Regions from separate parts of the Homo sapiens genome. Here region 1 is linked to region 2. The links are contacts of gene promoters, found by promoter capture Hi-C in blood cells and fetal thymus (Javierre and others, 2016). All regions are on one chromosome and are shown on one strand. Each heading gives the region's core, a stretch centred on a gene start or on the middle of the fragment in contact. The rest is flanking DNA. Distances are from core to core; before and after follow the strand shown. Region 1 has its middle 120 kb from the start of SAMD12. Region 2 holds the start of CCN3 (cellular communication network factor 3).

Evidence for each region. The method cuts DNA at HindIII sites, captures the fragments that hold promoters and counts their contacts. A CHiCAGO score of 5 or more calls a contact.
Region 1: a fragment that was not itself captured here is called in contact with the fragment with the promoter of CCN3 in region 2 in 1 of 17 cell types (endothelial precursors); the score reaches 5.9 in endothelial precursors.

What each region holds. Positions count from the first base shown.
Region 1 is chr8:118,734,296-118,740,369 of GRCh38, forward strand. No RefSeq gene overlaps it. Among named protein-coding and RNA genes, the nearest start is that of SAMD12, 120 kb to the left of the region's middle. RefSeq lists an enhancer at 3,608-4,121. The HindIII fragment of the contact is 4,323 bases long and covers 2,030-6,074 here.
Region 2 is chr8:119,412,270-119,418,056 of GRCh38, forward strand. It overlaps CCN3 (cellular communication network factor 3), which reads left to right and starts at 4,177. Exons shown (of 5, transcript NM_002514.4): 1 at 4,177-4,347; 2 at 4,475-4,700. The coding sequence starts at 4,264. LOC124902009 (a long non-coding RNA gene) reads right to left here and starts at 4,040. Exons shown (of 2, transcript XR_007061077.1): 1 at 2,702-4,040. The HindIII fragment of the contact is 11,014 bases long and covers 1,604-5,787 here.

The DNA.
Region 1 (6,074 bases), core at 2,941-5,440, 680 kb before region 2:
AGCCTTTGCAGAAATGGGAAGAATAATATGACTAAACAGAAGCTGAGACATTATAAAGGGGCTCACCAGTGAGGAATTGGGCTGCAGTAATATACATCTTTTTTTAAAAAAAATTTGGCAATATATATGTATTACATTCCAGAAACAAAGCAATAGACACTGAATTTTGATCTGCTGCCCAAGTCATGTTTTCAGAGACCTTGACCATTACTTTGGTCACCAGTCATATCCATCCTGAGGATCAATGCACAGTTTATATGAATATCACACTTGAGAAAGACCAGAATGGGTTCTTCTTCCATTATTTCTTCTTTGTCTTCACAACCTAGTTCATCCACTTCTTTCTTTATTTTCATTGACGGCATAAAATGTTCTTAATTTCATGGAAACATTTGAATGAGTTACGACAAATCCAAACAAGTTATTATATATCAATTATGACTATTGACCTAGATTTTCTGTAATAGTTTTCCATAAAAATATAAACTTACACCAAAATTTTAGCCTGGCTCTATGAAATAGAGGAGTAGTAGAAATGAGATTAAGTTCTATCTGATTTCTGATGTCTTGCTTTCCTTTTCTAGCTTGGATGGCTTTGAACTGGAATCACTACTGTAGGTACCTCCTGCAACTAAGGTACAAGGCATAACAAACTGAGACCAAAACCAGCCAAGCTATTTGTGTTCTAAGCCTACGTTATTGTAGATATGACTTCCTATTTAGTTCTTTGAGATGTTAGAAATCAGCTTAGTTCTTCTGAAAGTATGGCTTTAGGAAATGGAGGACATTAAACTATTTCTACAGGCAAAGGTGAAAGACTTAGACCAGAGCTGTCCAATACAAATTTCTGCCTGGATGGGAATGTTTGCTACCTGTGCTGTTCCAATACGGTAGCCACTAACTCCATGTGCCTATTGGGCACTCACAATGTAGCTAGTGTGATTCAAGAACACTAATTTAATTTTATATTTAAGTTAAAATAGCCACACGTACGGCTAGTAGATACTGTTAGTGCAGACTTAACCTGTTATTATTCACATAACATGTATGTCCCAAGACCAATAATTAGAATTCTTATATCTAAGTTAAGTGAATTGGTCAAATTTCTTTTGCAAATTGAGAAGCATCATCATGGAAGCAGTTTGTTGACAACTGAAGGTCTTGCTCTTTGCAGAACTCTTGGATAGGCCTGTTCCTCCAGGTTGTCTTTACTTCGTTCTTGATTGGGGTGCGGGATGGGGAATACGTAACTCTCCATGTGAGTGTGATTTCTAGGGTGTTGTGGTGATTTTCTATTAGAGAACCTCCTAGACTGAAATTTGCTTGCATCTGAGGTTCATAATCAATATGCTACACACTTATGTGATTTTCAAATCCTTTCATGGAATGATTATATCCTGTGACTTACCACTGAATGTTTTTTGCAGAAAATAAGTAAATAACCTTCTCAAGGTTACAATTTTTCAAAAAAAAATTGCTGTTTCAAATCTTAGAAATTCTATGTGTTAGTCATTAGGGCACTTCCTCAGGTATTTCTGGTTTATTCGCTTCTGGTTAAAGTTGTACTTTCAAACCCTATCCTGGTTGGATGGGGCCATGTGACCATTCTGGCCGATGACTTCTTAGAAGAAGCTACTTCAGCTATTTCATGCCACTTTCAAGCCAAGCATTTAATTGCTGGTGCAGGACTGTAGAGCTCTCTTTTTCCTCTGGCATAGCAACTGGCAATGTTTAAGATGGTGCCCATTTCATCAACCTGGGAGCCTGGATGACTAAAATGAGCTTGAGATGAAACCTCTGTCACTTGTAATGGATATATAACACAGAAGATAAATAAGTCTTTGATATTTAAAGCCAGTAGGCTGTTACACATTGAAGTGAGAGCTAGAGTAAGTATTGTGAATAGAAAATAGGAAAAATTGGTCAAAATAGCAGTGGAACTCTGGAAGGGATAAATTATCTGAAGTTGAATTCAACTGATCTCATGTTTGTCAACAACCTGCATGGCACTAGATGATGACATCAAATAAGCTTGGAAATCTTTGTGAAACAGCCAATTTGTAGAGCCCTGGATGAAATGTTTTCTAAATAAACATCAGTGCACTTTTGTTTGCATAGTGACAAAAGTGCTGACTGTCAATGATGGGGCCCAACAACTTCAGAATAAATTATTCCCGTGTTAAAAGGCTATGCAGACAGCACCTTGATCTGTGGCCAAGATCAGTTGAAGAGAGTCTACTGGATCAGCAGAGTTATGTTTTGATGAGCATTTCTTAATTTCAAGGAGGAATCTAAACAATGGAAAGAAGATAAATAGCTACAGGTAGGATGTTGGCAAAGATATACATGTAATTTCACACAATTCCTATTTCTCATCCTAAAGCCTAGGCTTGACATTTGCCTAACACTTCTCATACTGAGAGATCTGATAGACTTCAAGGCATATGGTGATAAAATCAGGTTATTTTTATATTAAACCCTAGTTTCATTAATATGACCTATTGAAGGAATCACATAAATTATTCTTTCAGGAAGAAATGTAAAAATTATTTTGCATCGCATTCAGTGCTTTAGGTCTAATATACTCTTAGTGATTAATTACTATCAATAATACTAATTAATAGTAATTAATTATGGATATGATTTACTGTAACACCCTTACTAATGGTGTCATTTATAACAACAATAATAATGATAATAATTAATAGCTCCTATATTGATGCCTTTTCTATTCCTGTGTCACTGTAGTAAATGTTATATATGAATTATCTCATTTAGTCCTAAAACACTTTAATTTCTACTTAAAAAAAAAAAGAAATAATTTCTGAAAGTTTAGGGAACCTGCTGCCAGCCCAATTGCTCGCAAGTGGTTGGGCTCATATTTGAAGTTTGGGCTATATGAATCCAAGAACTATGTTCCTAATGTTATGTAAAATACCTCTTTTTTATGGCTAAGATTTAGAATATCAAATTTAATTTAACCTAAACCTTAATTGTATTTAGGCTACCTTTTTACATAAGGGCACCACAAATTAAAATAATTGAGAAAAAATTTAAAAAACAATTTTAATTTCTACTGAGAATATTATTACTGAGAATTTATTTTAAATGAGGCAATTGAGGCCACACGTTTATTACATATTCACATGTTCCTAAATGCAGCTTCAAGGACCCTGAGTGTGTCTGACCAGGGGTAGGCTTATCTGGGAATTTCTGCTTCTTCATGTATCTCTCTGGATTTACAGATAATGATTTAGCAGGCAGGCAAACGGCTTTCTTGTACTACCTCTGGGCAACTATGAGACCTGAGACAAGTTTCCACACCTTCCTGGATTTCATTTTCACTCATTTGTAAAATTCGGGATGGGCTGACTCTGAGGTCATTCCAGTGTTAATATTCTCTTGTGTCTCTCTTACATCCTGATGTCACAAAACTTCTTTTTAACTGATAGCTGAATCTGTAGATGGACCAGCCAAACATTTTCCTGGGGGTATGTGATGGATTCATAGTATATCAGTTTTGCTAACCTGGAACTGATGGTCCCAGAATTCCCTTCCATATATAGCGCCAGGATGGGTGAACCACAAAAGATGCTCTGAACAAGAGTGAAAAGGTGGAAGTGAAACAGCAGTGACATTCCTTTTATTTTATGTCCAAGAGGTCAGTGTCAGCCAGGCCATGAAATGTTGTTGTCTCTAATGCATGTTGTCTTTTCTTTGCTGGCTTACCTGTGGGCATGTAGAACTCCAGCCCTCTTAGTTTTTCTGACTCATGGGTCAGGTGTAGGTTTAGCTCTGTGACAAAGGGGGCCACTCCTCCTTCATTTCACTCCCATCATCCAAGTGAAAGGCTCAGAGGCAGTGAGAGTCCCATGCAGATTCTCATCCATTCTCACAGGTTCCAGCCCAGCCCTGCAGGGTTCCTTTTGAGCTTGCTTCCATTTCACATTCTTCCATGCCCAACTGCCAGCCCCAGCTGACTTTCCCAGCTGCAGAAGCTATAGCTCAATAGATTCTTTAGCCCACAATCATCTAAGACCAAATACCTATAATAAATCTCTTATTATATAAATCTTCTAGTGGTTCTGCTTCTCTGATCAAACCCTGACTAATATACGTTGCTAAAACAGCTTTGGGGAGAGAATTAGATGGAGAAAATAGCATCTAGCTGAACTCTTGCCAGGAAAATAATGTGTGTGATTGAATAGGATTTTTGTTAAGCTATTTTGGGGGACTGTTTTAATGAGAAAACTGGGGTAACAATTTGTGTTTAACTAAGCTGCCTTTTAAGAAAGGGAGTCTAGTTCAGTTCAGGGCTTCTGTTTTTCATCTGAATGAGGATGCAAGTTAGAGGGTCAGAACTAAATTGGCCAGGGCGCTCCAATGACCTCCTTTCTTTAGGCAGAGCTCCGAATCTTCTCCAAACACATAGTTAAACCTATTTTAGGACTAGTGGCTTAAAGGGCTTTCAAATTATTAGGCTGCCGGAGGCAACTTCATGTCTTGTATCTCTGAAAGCCAGTTGCTATTTCTACTTCACCAATGCCATAAGCTCTGTGATAATTTTTTTAAAATGGCACCTTTTGCAACAATTAACAAAGCAAAATTTCCTCTGTTTTTGGAGTATTAGGATGAGCAGTTTAGCCCTACTCTGCAGTAAACCACTCTCAAACACCTTCTATTATTTCAGACAGATAATATGAATTTCTTTGTCAGCTCATTAAAGTATATTTGGGACTTCTTGTACAATCATTATTTTGTTTCTTGGTTTGAGTAAACCTTCAAAAGTTTCAAATTCCAGGAAAATAATGTAGGAATGGTGAGGCTTAGGCATCCCTAATTGCATGGTGCTGTCTAATTCAATTAGTTATTTTGTCCTGTCACCAACAGAAGTTTTGAAAGATTGTGGAGGAGGAAAATTCACAAATTTAACTTTAATAGCATAGTTAAAATAAACATAATAATGGTGAATCATGATAGAAATTTGGACACTCATTTTTTTGTGTGATTTAAGGAGCTATTCACCCTCAGGTGTGAATGGCAATTAAAGACATATAGAGTAATCTTGCAACACTTTGCAAACATTTATGCATTGGCAGAAATTGTGTTTTGCCTGTAAAAATTTCAGTGACCTCTTTATTCTCTTTCTCAGGTTTTCTAGAGTCCGTGTTTATAATAGACTAACCAGCTCCCTCAGCCTTTCCATCCAATGTGAGCAAAAACATAAAATGAATTGAAAAGCAAGGCAAAGTATGCTGGTAGTACTAGGCCTATCGTTTAGTAATAATAACATATTTTCTTTTTTTCTAGCACTTGGTGCTTTGTGCACATCACTTTTGTATCTGTTGTCTCATGTGACAGTTAATTTTTATGTGTTGACATGGCTAGGCTATGGTGCCCAGTTGTTGGGTCAAAATAGCAATCTAGATGTTTCTGTGAAGGTATTTTTAGATGTCAGTAGACTCTGAGTAAAGCAGATTACCCTTATAATGTGAGTGGCCCTCAGCCAGTCAGTTGAAGGTCTTGAGACCAAAGACAGAGGTCCCTCGAAGAGAAAAGAATTCTGCCTCCAGACTGTCTTCAGCCTTAAGGCTGCACCATCAACTTTTACTGGAATTTCTGGGGTGCCATCCTGCTCTACGGATTTTGGACTTGCCACCCCCCACAATTTGTGAGCCTATCCCTTAAAATAAATCTATCTACAGCTATGCCTTTCATACCTATACACCTATCTCTATCTTCATCTCTCTCTCTCTAAGATTTATCTCCTAGTGGTTCTGTTTCTCTGGAGAAATCTGACTTATACAGGTCACTTAAAAACCACTTCATCAGAAAGATGGGTAAGAGCATGACCTTTTGAGTGAAAAAGTTCTAGGGGTTAAATTCTGGCTTTGCAACTTATCAACTTTCTGATCTCTGAGAATTAAAAAAAACTTTCATAATCCTCACTCTTCAACAGCTGTAAAATAGGAATAATAAAAATAACAATATTTGTTAGACTTTTACTATATGCCAAACAGTGTATTAAATGCCTCACATGCATTATTTCATGTTAACAACAACCCTATTAAACA
Region 2 (5,787 bases), core at 2,927-5,426:
GCACACTCATGTGTCTATGGTAATGCTAGTGTAAGCAAACTTACTGCACTTTCAGGCATATAAAAGTATAGCACATATAATTATGTATAGTCCATGTTTGATGATGATAATAAGTGACTATGTCACTGGTTTATGTATTTACTATACTTTTCATCATTATTTTAGAGCATACTTCTACTCATAAAAAAAAGTTAACTATAAAACAGTCTCAGGCAGATCCTTCAGAAAGTATTTCAGAAGAAGACATTGTTATCTGAGGAGATGACAGCTCCATGTGTGTTATTACCCCTGACAACCTTCCAGTGGGACAGGATGTGGAGTGGAAGACAGTGACACTGATGATCCTGACCTTGTGTAGACCTAGGCTAATATGTATGTTTGTGTGTTATTTTTCACAAAAAAAAAAAAAATAAAAATATTAAAACTAGAAAAAAGCTTATAGAGGCCAGGCACAGTGGCTCATGCCTGTAATCCCAGCACTTTGGGAGGCCGAGGCAGGTGGATCACGAGGTGAAGAGATTGAGACCACCCTGGCCAATATGGTGAAACACTGTCTCTACTAAAAATACAAAAAATTAGCTGGGCGTGGTTGTGTGTGCCTATAGTCCCAGCTACTTGGGAGGCTGAGGCAGGAGAATTGCTTGAACCAGGGAGGCAGAGGTTGCAGTGAGCCAAGATTGCACCACTGTACTCCAGCCTGGTGACAGAGAGGGACTCCATCTCAAAAAAAAAAAAAAAAAAAAAAAGCCTGTAGAATAAGGATATAAAGAAAATATTTTTGTACATCTGTACAATGTATCTGTGTTTTAAGGTAGGTGTTATTACAAAAGGGTCGAAAAGTTAAAAAAATTAAAAGTTTATACAGTAAAAAAGTTACAGTAAGCTAAAGTTAATTTATCATTGAAAAAGGAAATTTTTGAATAAATTTAGCTTAGCCTAAGTGTAGTGTTTATAAAGGCTATAGTAGTGTGCAGTTATGTCCAAGGCCTTAACATTCACCCACCACTGACTCACTGACACCCACTGCAAGCTCCATTCACGGTAAGTGCCCTACACAGGTGGACAATTTTTTATCTTTTATACCATATTTTTACTGCACCTTTTCTAAGTTTAGATATGTTTAAATCACAAATACTTACCATTGTATTACAGTTGCCTACAGTATTCAGTGCAGTATATTCTGTACTGTTTGTACGTTTGTAGCCTAGGAGTAATAGACTATATCATACAGCCTAGGTGTGTAGTAGGCTACACCATCCGCATCTGTGTAACTACACTCTATGATGTTCACACAACAATGAAATCACCCAAGGACACATTTCTCCAACAATATCCCCATCATTAAATGGTGTGACTATAATGATTATCCAGTGAGTTATGAGATAAAAGAGATAAGCTCGGCATCCCAGGCCTGCACTGCGGATAACATCTATCCCGGCATGAAGGATTTCAGAGACTATGTCCTGGAGGCAGTGAAGCATGACATGACATGATTATCATCAGATGGTATCACTTTCAATTTACAATTGTTTTAAGATGAAGATCCTCATCCTAGAGCATTTATAGCAGATGATGGAGTGGATGTGTATTGTTTTGCTCACCAAGCTTGCTTTCTTTTTAAGGAACAGTCCTTTCTTCCCAAGAGAACTGCTCTTTCTCTCCATTCCAACCATGAGGTTCTAACTAATCCCCATACTTCACCTTCCTTGTCCCCATTGATTAGTCCAGGGTGAACCCATCCAATTTAATTCCTGGAACTTTTAAAGTTGGGCCTAAGAGACAGGGACATTCCTTCTGTGGTGATAAGGTCATAAAGTAAGAAGATTGGAAGGATCATTTTTCCCTTATGTGGAAGTAATCCTGTTGGCCCTCCTCTCTCTAGATCCCAATTGCCTCTGAGGACTCCCTGTACCATTCCTGTGCTGTCACTATGTGAAACATCACAGCATCCTTCCAGTAAAGTCCTCTTTTCGCAAAAACTAGTTCAAGTTTGGTTTCCATCTCTTGCAATCAAAACTGAATAGCAATTTTACACTTGCAGTGACTTCTTGACATGTTAATCCTTGTCTTAAAGTTACATTTTCCCTGTCACCACTCCCACCCCACTCTTTCCAAGAAGAGCTAGCCCAATCTCCATGTTGCCAATTTCTCCTTGTTCTATCTGAGTCTATTCATGCTTGGAACACTTGGCCGATGCTCTTTGCCTCCCCATTAGCAGTGCTTCTAGTTGCTCCATTTCAAAGTACATTAAAATGCTGTCTACCAAGAGCCACCACCAGAGAATCCTACTGAGTGGGTCAAGAGTGGGGCTCAGGAATCTGTATTTTTAACAAAATACATGCTGGTTGATTCGATCTGCAGCCAGATGGAGGCATCATTAGGCCAAATGGCTTACAAAACCTATCAGTTTTTTTGTTTTTTGTTTTATCTTTTTCTTAAACTTTTATTTCAAGTTCAGGGGTAAATGTGCAGGTTTGTTTACACAGGTAAATGTGTGTCATGGACATTTGTTGTGCAGATTATTTCATCGCCCAGGTATTAAGCCTGGTACCCATTAGTTATTTTTCCCGATCTTCTCCCTGCTCCCACCCTCCACCCTCCAAAGCCTATCAATTTGAAGAGTAGGTAAATGTCCTACTCAAGAGTGCAAATGAACTGTTTCATCTCTAGTTAAGTTTGAGTACTACTCAGTCTCATTTACCTCAAAGAAAGCAGAACTATTAGAGGCTTGGAAGTGTGTCATAGTGGTTTCAGGCTGCCGAGAGAATTATCTAGAAGGGGCTTGAGGTGACCTCATCATCTGCGGGTGTTGCAGAGGCAGACCTGGCCCCTTCCGCAAGCTGCCTTTGATTTCCTTCATGCTGGGGACAGATGAGGTAGAGGCCATTTGTTTCTTTTTAAACTCTAGAATTACATCACAGGCCTGTATAATTTTCCTTAAAAAGTGTTTTTTGTTTTTTTCCAAAGCAACTATCCTCAAAAGAGCTGGGCATAGTTCTCCTAGGGGCAGCACCAGTGTTGAAGTGTGGGGGGAAACTGTTCTAAATCCTTCAAACAATGTCACCTTTGGAGCAGTAAAACTGCTCCCTTTTTCCCATGAGAGATGACAAGCATGCCCCAGCAATCATTTCTTGAAAGCGGATGCCCGGTGAGAGAAGGATTTGATTTGCTGAAGGGTCAGCCAAGTTAAGCCAGTTTCTTCCTCATTTCTTCCCTGGCTGGAGGTTTTGATGGTGGTGATGGTGGTTGAACTGAACCCACTTAGAAAACTGTCAAAGGTTTCTGGACTCTCAGGTGTGCCGTCTCACATTTGGTCTGCTACAGCAGGTGCTTCAAGGCTTTCTTCTGCCAAGATTTCTTTGTTTTATTTTATGATGTTTTCTTTATGTGTGTGTGTGTGTGTGTGTGTGTGTGTGTGTGTGTGTGTTTTACTTTTATTTCTAACAAACCTGTGGACCTTGGGGTTTAAGACTGAGTGAAGCTAGAAGGATTAGAGTCAAAAGAATTTTGCCATTTGGCCAATAGCATTCCCCACCTCCTGACATATCGATTTTTTTTCTAGATTCCCTTCCCCCTGCCACTCCCCTCCCCCCAACACACACACACTTTTCTCTTTCTCCTCTTTCTCTCCTTTCCTCCCTTGCTTCTCTCCCCTCCCTCTCAACACATTCAATGAGTGCCCTAAACGGTGACAAACTTGCATGTGCTTCCCTCATGACTAAACCCCTGGGCCTTCTGCCAATCCCCTGCAGATGGCCCCAAACTGCAGGCATCCCGTAAGGGGACCCCACGCTTGCAGCCCTGGTTGGAACGGTCAGGGTGGAGGAGGATGGTGGGGAGTGGTGGTGTCTTCGTCCTGGGAGAAGGCGAAGCAACTTCCAGGAGGAAACGGGCGTTTCCTTCCCACGCGCTCGAGCGAGCCCTGGGTCCTGGCCTCGGAACTCCACCCAGCCCCTCCCCACCCTCTGGGAAAAGCCAGTCGCCACACACAGGCACACGCAGGCCCCGGCGCCGCGCCCTAAGGAGAGCAGCACCCACAGCCAATTGCCATGGCAACCCCGGGGTTCGTTCCACTTCCCCACCCAGCCGATCTCCCCCCTCCTCCCTGCACTGCAGCCAACCGGCTTGTGCGCGTCCCAGGAGCGCGCTATAAAACCTGTGCTGGGCGTGATCGGCAAGCACCGGACCAGGGGGAAGGCGAGCAGTGCCAATCTACAGCGAAGAAAGTCTCGTTTGGTAAAAGCGAGAGGGGAAAGCCTGAGCATGCAGAGTGTGCAGAGCACGAGCTTTTGTCTCCGAAAGCAGTGCCTTTGCCTGACCTTCCTGCTTCTCCATCTCCTGGGACAGGTAAGTGGCACACCCTTAAGATGCCCCCAAGTTACTTTGCCCGCCTTGGTGGCCCCCATTTGGTCACCGGGCTCACTGCGTCTTCTGTCCCAGCTGAGTGGTTTCTCCTTGTCTCGCCTGCCTTCAGGTCGCTGCGACTCAGCGCTGCCCTCCCCAGTGCCCGGGCCGGTGCCCTGCGACGCCGCCGACCTGCGCCCCCGGGGTGCGCGCGGTGCTGGACGGCTGCTCATGCTGTCTGGTGTGTGCCCGCCAGCGTGGCGAGAGCTGCTCAGATCTGGAGCCATGCGACGAGAGCAGTGGCCTCTACTGTGATCGCAGCGCGGACCCCAGCAACCAGACTGGCATCTGCACGGGTAATCCTGCTCCCTCTGCTGTTTGACCTCTTCTCCTGCAGCTAAGTGAAGCTGCTTCCTCCCTTCTCTTTTGTATTCCCCTTCCCAGAGGGCGATAAGCAAATAATAATAATGCAATAAATGACATGTATAGAGCACTTACTGTGTGTCAGGCATGGTTTGGGGAGCACTTGGGGCTTTGGGGAGCGCCAGAGCCAGAAAGGAAACCTGCCCTGGGGGTGAAAGGCATTCCTCACTTGGCTTCCTAGACAAGAATCTAAGCAAAGGGGGAGCCACGCAGAGTTAAGGGCCAGTGAAGTCATTTCCTTCGGACACTTCTAGGGGGCCACTTGGGGCTGATGGAAGCTCGGGTTTACTCACACGCTCACAGTTTCCCAAACTGCAGTTGGGGAAAACCCAGCAGGTTTGTTTTCACACCTGTAATTGTCCCATTTGAACCAAAGCAGCTGCTAGTCTCCTGGGATAACTATGTAACCCTTTTCTGGCTGCAAGTAAAATAAAATGCAGGCAACTAGCCAATCCAGGCTTCTAAAACGTAATCAGTCGGGGATCAATTTTTCACATGATACAACATTGTAGTTGAAGATTGTCCCTTCCTTTCTGGACAGGAGGGCTTTTACTTTTTTCTCTAAGCTACTGATGATTTTATTATGCTTGAGTGTCAAGGAATCTTAATGCCCTTCCCAATTTGATCAGCTAACCTGTTGGAAAACATAAAGTACACTTTTTCTCTTTTTAAGTCTAAGCTGCTGGAGTAGGAAACTCTAAGGAGGTTCTCGCAAAATGACTGAACATTGGGAAAAATGGCCAGGGGACCTTGGGGACATCACTTCACAGTTGCACACCTCTTTCCTCATCCATAAAATGAGTGGCAAGACTAGATGATCTTGAAGGTTTCTTCTTGCTCTGAGAGGCCTCCATGAGGACATCACTCTACAGTAGATACATGAGAAACCAGATCGCCTGAACTAGAAAAGGACTTGGGTTTTGGAACATGCCCTCCAAATCTTACATAGCTTCTTCACTGTATTGTGTTCTTGTTTTTCCTCTTCCTCTTTGCTTTTCACTTTGCTTCCCCAATATTCTA